3 separate regions of the Homo sapiens genome follow, and regions 1 and 3 are each linked to region 2. The links are contacts of gene promoters, found by promoter capture Hi-C in blood cells and fetal thymus (Javierre and others, 2016). All regions are on one chromosome and are shown on one strand. Each heading gives the region's core, a stretch centred on a gene start or on the middle of the fragment in contact. The rest is flanking DNA. Distances are from core to core; before and after follow the strand shown. Region 1 holds the start of HBP1 (HMG-box transcription factor 1). Region 2 holds the start of DNAJC2 (DnaJ heat shock protein family (Hsp40) member C2). Region 3 holds the start of CBLL1 (Cbl proto-oncogene like 1).

Region 1 (3,059 bases), core at 558-3,057, 3.8 Mb after region 2:
GATAGTTAAAAACTGTAGTTATATCTGTTTTAGTCTGAGAGTATAATTAGCACATGTAAAAATTTCCAAGGAGATCTTACTAGTTTTGTACTTTGATCTTTGTTCTGGCTTATAAGTTGGCTAGTTTTATTGGTCACTCAATTAATGATGATGTCTCTGGTAAATACACATAAGCTACTAATGTGGTCATTTAGCCCCCCACGGAAGTCAGAAGATTGGACTAAGTGTCCACTTAAAGGTGTAGCGAATTCTAATACTAGTATTTAATCAGTTGTGACTAAACTATCTAAATTTAACTCATATTAAAGACTTGGATAAAAATGAGAAAAAGTGTGCAAAAAATGTTTTCTATCTTTTTATTCTCAATAATTGGCACAGTGGTCAAAAAATGGAACTAAACGTTTCTGAATGAATGGAAAAGGCTTTATGGAGCTATTAAAGGATAAATTATTATTTGTAACATATTGTACAATATCTGGATCTAAAGTTGAATTTTTTTTCCCCATTTCCGGTGTCCCCCGATAAAAAAAATCACCACTAAGGCATTTGGTAAAAACTTTAAAATAGTTTAACTTTTAAAAACAAGGTTTAGCTGAAAGCAGATCTCACAGTTTGTGTACTGGAGAGGGGTAAAGCAGTATGTCAATCTCTTGCCAGCTCTTTTTTTTTTTTTTTTTTAAGAGAAAAGTTTTTTAGTTTTCTAGGAGGAGTTAGACATAAATATCTCAAAACAATTTTAAATAATTAGGTGAACTTCACAGATTTTTCTTTTTTGTCAAGAAATTACATGTTGGAGTAGAGTTTATATTTTCTATTCTAGTACACGATGACCCTCCATTGTAAAAAAAAAAAAAAAAAAAAAAAGCATACACAAAGTAGCAGAGACATTCATTTCTTTGAGTCACTAATAATTTCTGAAAGATGATAAATTCAAATCCTGTCCTTTTTCCTCAGGGAAAAAATTAAGCATTCTGTTGGCTCTCCTCTGAATTATTTTAATAAAAAATAGAATGCTTTATTACTATTTGTGAACATAGAAAGTAAGTATTTGATTACACGGGAGGACTACTTTATAATTTCACTTCACGGATTCAAATGGGGAATTCTCAAGAATTTTAAACTCGATTTCAACATGTGGGGGCTTATTTTGGATTTCTTGATTTGTTACGCGGCTTTCAGGTATATTTAAAAATCCAAGAAATGCAGGAGGTTTTAAAGAAATAACTAGCTGTGTGATTTCTGGCTCTGTCCAAAGGTTTGCTTTTACAGATTTCTTACTAATGTAGGTTTTCCTCATCTTAATTCTAAGCATATATTTAGTGATCTAAAGTTAGAAAATCTAAAGCACAATTTAAATGATTAAACACTAAAGGTTCAAAGGGGGGAAAAAGCTTAATCATGCCTTTGTAATGTGAATGGTAAAGACACCAATTATTGACTAGATGCAGCCGACTGTGAATGGACAGCCATGTTTAAAGAGAAGTTAACTATAAAGCAGGGAAGCGTCTCTGGTGAGTCAGAGAATTCGTAACTTGAGGAACTCCTAGTGGAAATGAAGTGGAAAGACAGTTTCTTTCATCAATGAGAAAACGTCTAGAAGGAAAAGAGGGTTAATAAAACTCACCAGAGAAACTTACTGATAATGATTCACAAATTAAATCAGTTTACGTCATACATTACACCCTTTGTATTACGTTAACCAACGAGCATACTAATCAGTATGGAAAATGCCGCTTTAACTTGCCTCAATTTCGTAATCGCCCGCCCCCGCCCCCGCTTTGTAAATTCTCTAGACTCCAGCTTCTCGCTTGCTCACAGTCCATCCCCCAGCCTCACTCTTCCTGGCACTTAGGTGGCGGCTCAACAAACTTAGGTGAACTGAACAGAGCTGACAAGGCAATCTCAAGTTGCTGTCCTGGGAGTGGTGAGGCAAGGCACAAGAGAAAGGACTTCTAGTTCTTCCCACTGCCAGTGCAGCCCCCAGCATCACTTTCGACCCCTTCGTGCCTGGGGCCGTGATTTGTGGGTGATCAAGTCCCTCGCTAGCCTGCAGTACTTCCGCTGGTGCAGTCATCTCCTTCCCCTCGCACTAAAACAATACCCTGGCCTCCTGCCAAACTCTTGAGCAGCGAGCAACTCTGGCTGTTTATGGCCCGGATTGGGTGCTGCAAGAGGCTTGGGCCGCTCTAAGTGTTAGCAGAGGCCCGGAGGAAAAGAAGAGGCCCAAGCTTTAAAACACTCCCTTCCTCCGCCCCCTCCCTTTTGTCCCAGACACCAAAACAAACGAGCTGATACACGTGTCCCTATGACTCTTGTTTACTATCAAGACTGCGCTGTGCGAGCGCCTCTGGGATACGTAGTCCAGCTCTTCCCCGGCCAGCAGTCTCCCACAGCCAAGGACCAAGGCTTGAGACTACGAACCCACAATCCATTTCGGGGACAAAGTTTGGCTTGGGTCCCCGGACTCTCGGCAATAGTCCAATCCGAAGCACTTACTCTTGTGATTGACATGCCATCTTCTCCAGTAAACACAACACAAAAGTCAATACATGCCCGCCCCCCGAGACGGACCACGGTACCACCCAATGGGAAAGGGGAAGAACCGAATGGCAGTTCTGCAGTCCAATAAGAGGGCGAAAGAGCTGGGCGGGGCTCAACCCCCAGGGGGTTGAGGGGAGGGGGAAGACGAAGCTTGAAAGACTTGGTAATGGCGACGGGTTTGGTAAGTAGGAAAGTTTCGGTTGAGGAGTAAGAGCTGCCGCGGGAGCAGTAACCCGCGCGGGGGAGGCCGACGTCGGTCGGAGAGGGGGTACGAGAGCTGCTGGTGGTGTTGTCGTGGCCGGAGCGGCCCGCGCCTGGGCTGCCGGCACTTCGCGGCAGGTTTGTTGTCTTTCAGTTAGGGAAGAGGTGGGGGTGGGGAAGGGAGGGGCAGGAGCGCGGGGGATTGGGCAGACTGGAGGGCTCGGGTCCTCGTTCCTTCTTCTCGGAGGGTTGCCCTTGGGGTGGGGGCAGTTAACCGTTCGATTGGTGCCCGCGGCGAGCCCACCGGAGCAGCGTCT
Region 2 (2,786 bases), core at 210-2,709:
ACTGTCTTAATTATTAAAATCTTGAATATAGCTCTTAAAAATTTTAAGAATTCACTAACAAGAATTTGTCCTGAAAGCAATTTTCCAAGCAGCAAATGGGAATTTACTAATGCAGCTAAGCTGTAGTGGAACAAGCTCTCAATCTGAAACCAGACACTCTGGGTTTTAGACTAGGTCTGACAGTGGCTATGTGACCTGAAATGAATCAGGATGTCTTCACCTGTAAAATGGGAACAATACCTATTTATCTCATTCAGTTCCTAGGAAGCTTGAATGAGACCACAGAAACTCTCTGAAATTACAAACTTGTAGTAAAGGTATCATCTATTCCTGGGAAGTGGGGGTAAATCACTGTACATGTGTATACTAGCAATTCAAAAAAGGAAAATCCCTGAACAACTTATTTTAAGATTTCCTCCACCTTACACAGGAGAGGATTAAAACACTGTCAAAAAGGTACTACCTGTGTAGTATGGGTGTGTGGCTTTTAAGAACACTGCCTTTTAAGCCTTTTGCTCTAGTTGTAAGAGGCACACGGAGACACATAAATGCAACACGTGCCATGGGTTATGTTCAAAATCACATTCAACAAGCGCCTATGTGACTGGCTATGGGAATTACTGTAGATCACTGGACCTGAAGACTCTTAAGTTTACAATACTCATGACTGTCCTGGGCCATAAAACTAAAACCTACAGCAGCAGGACAAGTTTCACTTGTAATAACTGCCTTTCAAAGTCTACGCGGATCTTTTCAGCAGCACAGTCTTTGAACACCGAGTATGAGGAGCGGTGTCTGAGTTGTGACATTTAAAAAACAAGGCCGGAGCAAACGTAGAGAGGGAGAAAGTTGTTTAAGAGAGCGCCAGTAGCAAAGCTTTGTACGACCCCAGGCACGTGGGGTGCTCGCTGCGCGTAGTCTTTCCACCGTAGGCAAGGAGATGCTTATGAGAACCTTTCTGGGGTGCTGGGGGGTTCCGTCCCGAAATGCTCAGCCCAATCCATGAGTCAGCAGCGGCGAGAGGAGGAAGCAACGGTAGGAGCAAAAGGAAGGCACCCCTCACCCTCCTTCCTTCTAATCTAGGGTAGGATTACTTTAAAACACGGAGCAAAAAGGCACTCGTCACGGCCCCATACGGCCCCGGGGCTAGTCGCCAGGGTCAAGGGTAGAGAGAGCCCAGGGTTGCCGAGGCGGAGGACTGAGGCAGGGGCAGCTGAGGTGAGAAGGAACCGAGGTTGGGTGGGCACTTACCAGAGGTCAGAGCGTGGGTGATGGCGGTGCCCCGGCCGTCCGCGGCGCTTGGCAGAAGCAGCATGATGGCGCCGGGTCTAGCCCGGTGGGCGCAGCGGCTCACGTCCCGGGCGGAGGGCGCTTAGGGTCCCCTCCAGCTCTACCTCTCACTCCGAGCCTCGCGCCTTGGCTCTAAGACGCCCAGGAACCGGCGCATGGAGACGACCAGTAAGCACTTCCGGGATGGATCTTTCGTGGTGTGGAGGCCAGTCTCACACCCTCCCACCCCCGCCAACGTGTGCGGTAACCTAGTTCTATACTGACTGAGATCCGGCTGGAGACCAAGTCGCACGAGAGAATGGTTCCTAGGCGCATCAGTTTTCCTGTAAAAAGGATTATATTCCACGTCCCAGTGCAATACATAGAACATAACCTTTAAAAGCAGTTCTTTTTATATTATCTTTAAGTTCTTACTGCTTTATGTATTAATCTGAACCTAATCAGTGATTTTCCCAGGAGCGCTATACTTTTAAGTAAAAAATGAAAATACCTGTATGAACCAGTATCGACGACTAGTATATACATTTGCGGAGAATTACGTACGTGTATTTGTGATACATTTGTGTTTAACTTGATGATGATAATAGCAGCTAATATTTGTCGTGCTATTACTAATTTACCTGCATTATATCTTTTAATACTCGCTTGGAGAAGAAACCTCTCTCTAGTGTGTTAGATTGTATTCCAAGGCCAGCAATATTTTTACCTTGTTCTAATGAAGTTTTTATTCAAGATATTCCCAATTATAGGACTCTGGGACTTAATTTTTTAATGTATAATAAAATCAATTGTATTCCTACTATATGCTTCCTTCTAAGACTGCAGTCAAAAGCAAAAACTAGCAAAAACAAACAGTGGGTAAAGGCTCACCCCCAACAGCAGTATCTGAAACAGGTTCAATAAAATAAACTTGATATGCCACTCTTTAGCAAGGACCACCAGAAATTAGTAAATTAGAAAATAACTTACTAATTTCATTATATTTTCACAATTAAAGTTTTTAAATATATTATATATATATATATGTATATTTTTTTTTGTAGAGACAGGGTCTCACTATGTTGCCCAAGGTGGTCTTGAACTCCTGGCCTCAAGGGATCCTCCTGCCTCAGTCTCCCAAAACTCTGGGATTAGAGGCGTGAGTCACTGTGCCAGGCCAATTAAATACATTTAATTGGTCTGTATATCTGCTGCATGATAAAATTGTCACTTCAAAACTGACTTTTCAAAAATTGAACTAAGGGAGGCTGAGGTGGGAAGATCGTTGAGGCCGGGAGGTGGAGGTTGCAGTGAGCTGAGATCACACCATTGCGCTCCAGCCTGGGTAACAGTGAGACCCCGTCTTTAAAAAAAAAAAAATTGAACTAATCTTCTGCCCCAAAACCTCTTCCTGATCCCTACTAATGCAACCACTGTTAAAACATGCTCCAAGGTGCAAAGTAACCTGACTCCACTTTCTTCATATTAATATATTTTTTTCCTCACACCTCCTCCCA
Region 3 (2,999 bases), core at 251-2,750, 4.4 Mb after region 2:
AAAATCTTTTACAAGATCTCAGGAAAATAATCACCAAATAACATGGTGCACTTAAATCGCACTGATCATCACAGCATGATTCACAAATAATACCGTACAACTACAAAGATATAACACATCGCTACACATACTTTATTTGCAATTCAGTACCATGAAAACATTTCTCTAAGAGGTCAATGTAATAATCTTTTATTGATATAGGAACTCTGGCACTGAAAGCTTGAATAACCCAAGGTAATGATGTCGTCACCAAGGGAGGACAAGAATAGAACCCAAATCCCTTGACTCCCAAGCTTGTGTTTTCCATTAATTGTGCTCCTTTCTATTCATCCAAGAGCATCAAGTGTAAAAGGCTGGAGAAAGGAGTGGACACAAATGAGCCAAGTCCGCAAGGTGGAGACTGCACTGAAGGTCCTAGGAATCGCCCCTTGGCACTTTCCTTTTGTGTTGGCTGAGGAAGATGAAAGCAGCAACAACCACAAACTCCTGGGACCAAGAACTGGAACTAGGTACTGCTTGTTGTGGTAACTCTCTTCCTCATTTTAGGCCTTTCCTTTTTAACCTCTCCTTCCGGCCAAGCCTTCGCGCTCTCTTCCCCTCCCTCGGTTTCTATCCGCTCCCGTTAGCTCCACTCCGCACATTCCTGCAAGGTGTCCCCGTTAAGAGGAGGCAGCTGCGCCGCACTGGCTCTCCACCCTCCATCCGGCCCTGGCGCCCAGTCGTCAGGTGTTCGAGAGGTTCGTAGCGTCACAAGCGCTCTCCCTAGAAAGTGAGTGGCAGTCAAGCATTATAAACGTGTTTCAACTGTAAAGAGACTTAAGAGATGGGAACCGGGGCATATACCAAGTTAGCTCTGCGTGGGTCTAGGTAGCTCGTCACGACAAAGCAAAATTTAGACAAGCGTTGAGACTTTCCTTCTAGCTCCGAGTTTCACAGCTCCGCCATCCCCTGAGCAACCTCCCACTGGAGGGCGCCTTCCGGAGCGCGCGTGTTTACACTTTTGCTACACCAGGCGGAGGAAACAAGCGCTCGCTGACCCCGGGGGATTCCAAACCGTTACTCCGCCCGCCGGGGTGGGGCCAGCGCAACGGCCGAGCCTGCGCAGCCAGCCGGCTCCGGGGGCCCCGCGCACTACAAGTCCCAGAAGGCAGCTCTCCGCGGGGCGGGCAGTCGCCTTATCTGCTTCTGGCTCATTTTTACCACTGCTCTCCCCTTCCCCGGTCCCCCTGGTGTCCTTTCCACAGTTAAAGGCTACTTTCTCTTGAAGCACATGAGGAGAAGCCTTAGCAACCTCAATACCGAAGTTCTTCGCGCGCTCGCTCTTTCTGCCTCCGCCCGAACTATGCCTGAGTCCCTCACAGGAGTTGGATAGTAGAGGCGAGAGAAGGAAGTCTTTGCAGGCCAAAATTGGGACAACCTGCTTGGACTTCCGCCTCCCGGCCTCCGGAAGGCAGTGCGCACGCGCTCGCTGCGACTCCGGCGCGGTTGACTTCCGCTCCCACTGTGCTCTGCGAGCCGAATCATGGATCACACTGGTAAGGAGGCGGAGGCAGTGGGGGTCCCGGTTCCAAGCCCCCTTGGCCGGCCTGGGGCTGGTCGCACAGCAGGCAAAAGGGATTATGCTCGCCCCACAACACTAGGGTGTGGCAGTGAGAAGAAATCTCACAGATGCCTTCCTGTGCCCGGCAGGGGCCTGCGGTTTCCTGGCCTACCGTCTGGTGTGGTACCTACCTCCTCCGTGCCGGCAACAACCGCTCCTACTCTGGTTCTGCTGAGCTCCGAGCCCGGACCAGTGGGCGATGTAGGCCTTCGGGAAGGGAGAGCCCCGGCTCTGTTTTATTTAGCCCAGCTGCTCTGGCCTACGTTATGGAGACTGGCGGGTAGATTGCGGTCTCCGAGTCGCGGAATCCTCTTTACGCTGGGAGTGGACGGGCGAGAATGGGTTGGAGACTTCCTGCTGTCTCAGTCAGCTTTGGGCGGGTGCTGCAGTGGTCACCCCCTGTCGTCTCTCCGATCCTTTATGGACTAGAGGGGTGAAAGAAGGGAGTCTGATAGAGTTTTTGGAATCAAACTCGGAGCAGTTTTTCTACCTAAACCAAAAGCATGCCCCGCGCTTCGGCTGAGGTCCTTACTCATCATTTGAGGGTATTTACAAAGAGGAGTTTAAAATCAAGGCATTCTCATACTTTTCTCCAAGTAAGAGTGGCTCCACCCTTTGTTATGTATTTTCTGGCTTTTGCTTCTTTGTGGTTCTTGGATATTGAATGAGTGCTCTTGGAGTTATGTGCCCCATACATTTATAGCGACCGTATCACAAATAGAGAAAAAAAGGCTTTTTCTTGAGTATTGAGTTGTCCTCACTCATCAGATATCTACTTGGTTATATAATTAGGTGTGTATGTTTATTTATGTAGGTGTGTATGTTTATTTATGCAAGATACATGCAGATATCTATAGGTCGGGAGATGGAAGATGGAATGGTAAACGAGACGGACCAGGTCCGTGATAGAACTTCTGTTTTATGGAGGAACACAGACAATACGTTCTTTTTTTTTAAATTTATTATTTTTTTAATGTTTGCGGATTATTTTGAAGAAAATAAACGAGTGCTGTGGAGAGATTCATAGGACGAAATTTCAGAGAGGGTTGTTAGGAATGGTCTTTGTGGAAGCTAAGATCTGATGGATGAGAAGAACCCAGCCCTGGGAAAAAAGCAAGAGGAAGAGCATTTCCAGCAAGTGCGAAGGCACTGAGGTAGGAAGATACAGTGAAGTCAGCTGCAGCCTCCTAATAGCCAGAGGGTAGGAGTCCTGAAGTGAGATTGGAAAGGAGGGCAGCAGGCACATCATTCAGGTCATTGAAAGCCGTGGTAAACGTTTGAATTTTAATTTAAGTGAATATGAAGCCATTGAACAGAAGTGGAGGAGGAACACAGTCTCTTAAAAAATACAATAGGCTGTTCTATGAAGAATGGTGTAAGAGAGGGAGGTAAGAATGAT

What was found. Contacts are between HindIII fragments. The CHiCAGO score rates a contact against its expected background, and 5 or more counts as called.
Region 1: a fragment that was not itself captured here is called in contact with the fragment with the promoter of DNAJC2 in region 2 in 1 of 17 cell types (naive CD8 T cells); the score reaches 6.2 in naive CD8 T cells.
Region 3: the fragment with the promoter of CBLL1 here is called in contact with the fragment with the promoter of DNAJC2 in region 2 in 2 of 17 cell types (total CD8 T cells and activated CD4 T cells); the score reaches 7.1 in total CD8 T cells.

Annotation. Positions count from the first base shown.
Region 1 is chr7:107,166,306-107,169,364 of GRCh38, forward strand. It overlaps HBP1 (HMG-box transcription factor 1), which reads left to right and starts at 2,698. Exons shown (of 11, transcript NM_012257.4): 1 at 2,698-2,880. RefSeq lists silencers at 2,226-2,799, 2,818-2,917 and an enhancer at 2,348-2,507. The HindIII fragment of the contact is 837 bases long and covers 1,390-2,226 here.
Region 2 is chr7:103,343,308-103,346,093 of GRCh38, forward strand. It overlaps DNAJC2 (DnaJ heat shock protein family (Hsp40) member C2), which reads right to left and starts at 1,460. Exons shown (of 17, transcript NM_014377.3): 1 at 1,252-1,460. The coding sequence starts at 1,315. It also overlaps a transcript of PMPCB not described here. RefSeq lists an enhancer at 1,403-1,642. The HindIII fragment of the contact is 5,590 bases long and covers 875-2,786 here.
Region 3 is chr7:107,742,642-107,745,640 of GRCh38, forward strand. It overlaps CBLL1 (Cbl proto-oncogene like 1), which reads left to right and starts at 1,501. Exons shown (of 6, transcript NM_024814.4): 1 at 1,501-1,535. The coding sequence starts at 1,523. It overlaps CBLL1-AS1 (CBLL1 antisense RNA 1), which reads right to left and starts at 1,940. Exons shown (of 2, transcript NR_144537.1): 1 at 1,732-1,940; 2 at 112-762. RefSeq lists enhancers at 90-609, 610-1,128, 1,226-1,445, 1,796-1,975 and a silencer at 986-1,185. The HindIII fragment of the contact is 5,122 bases long and covers 292-2,999 here.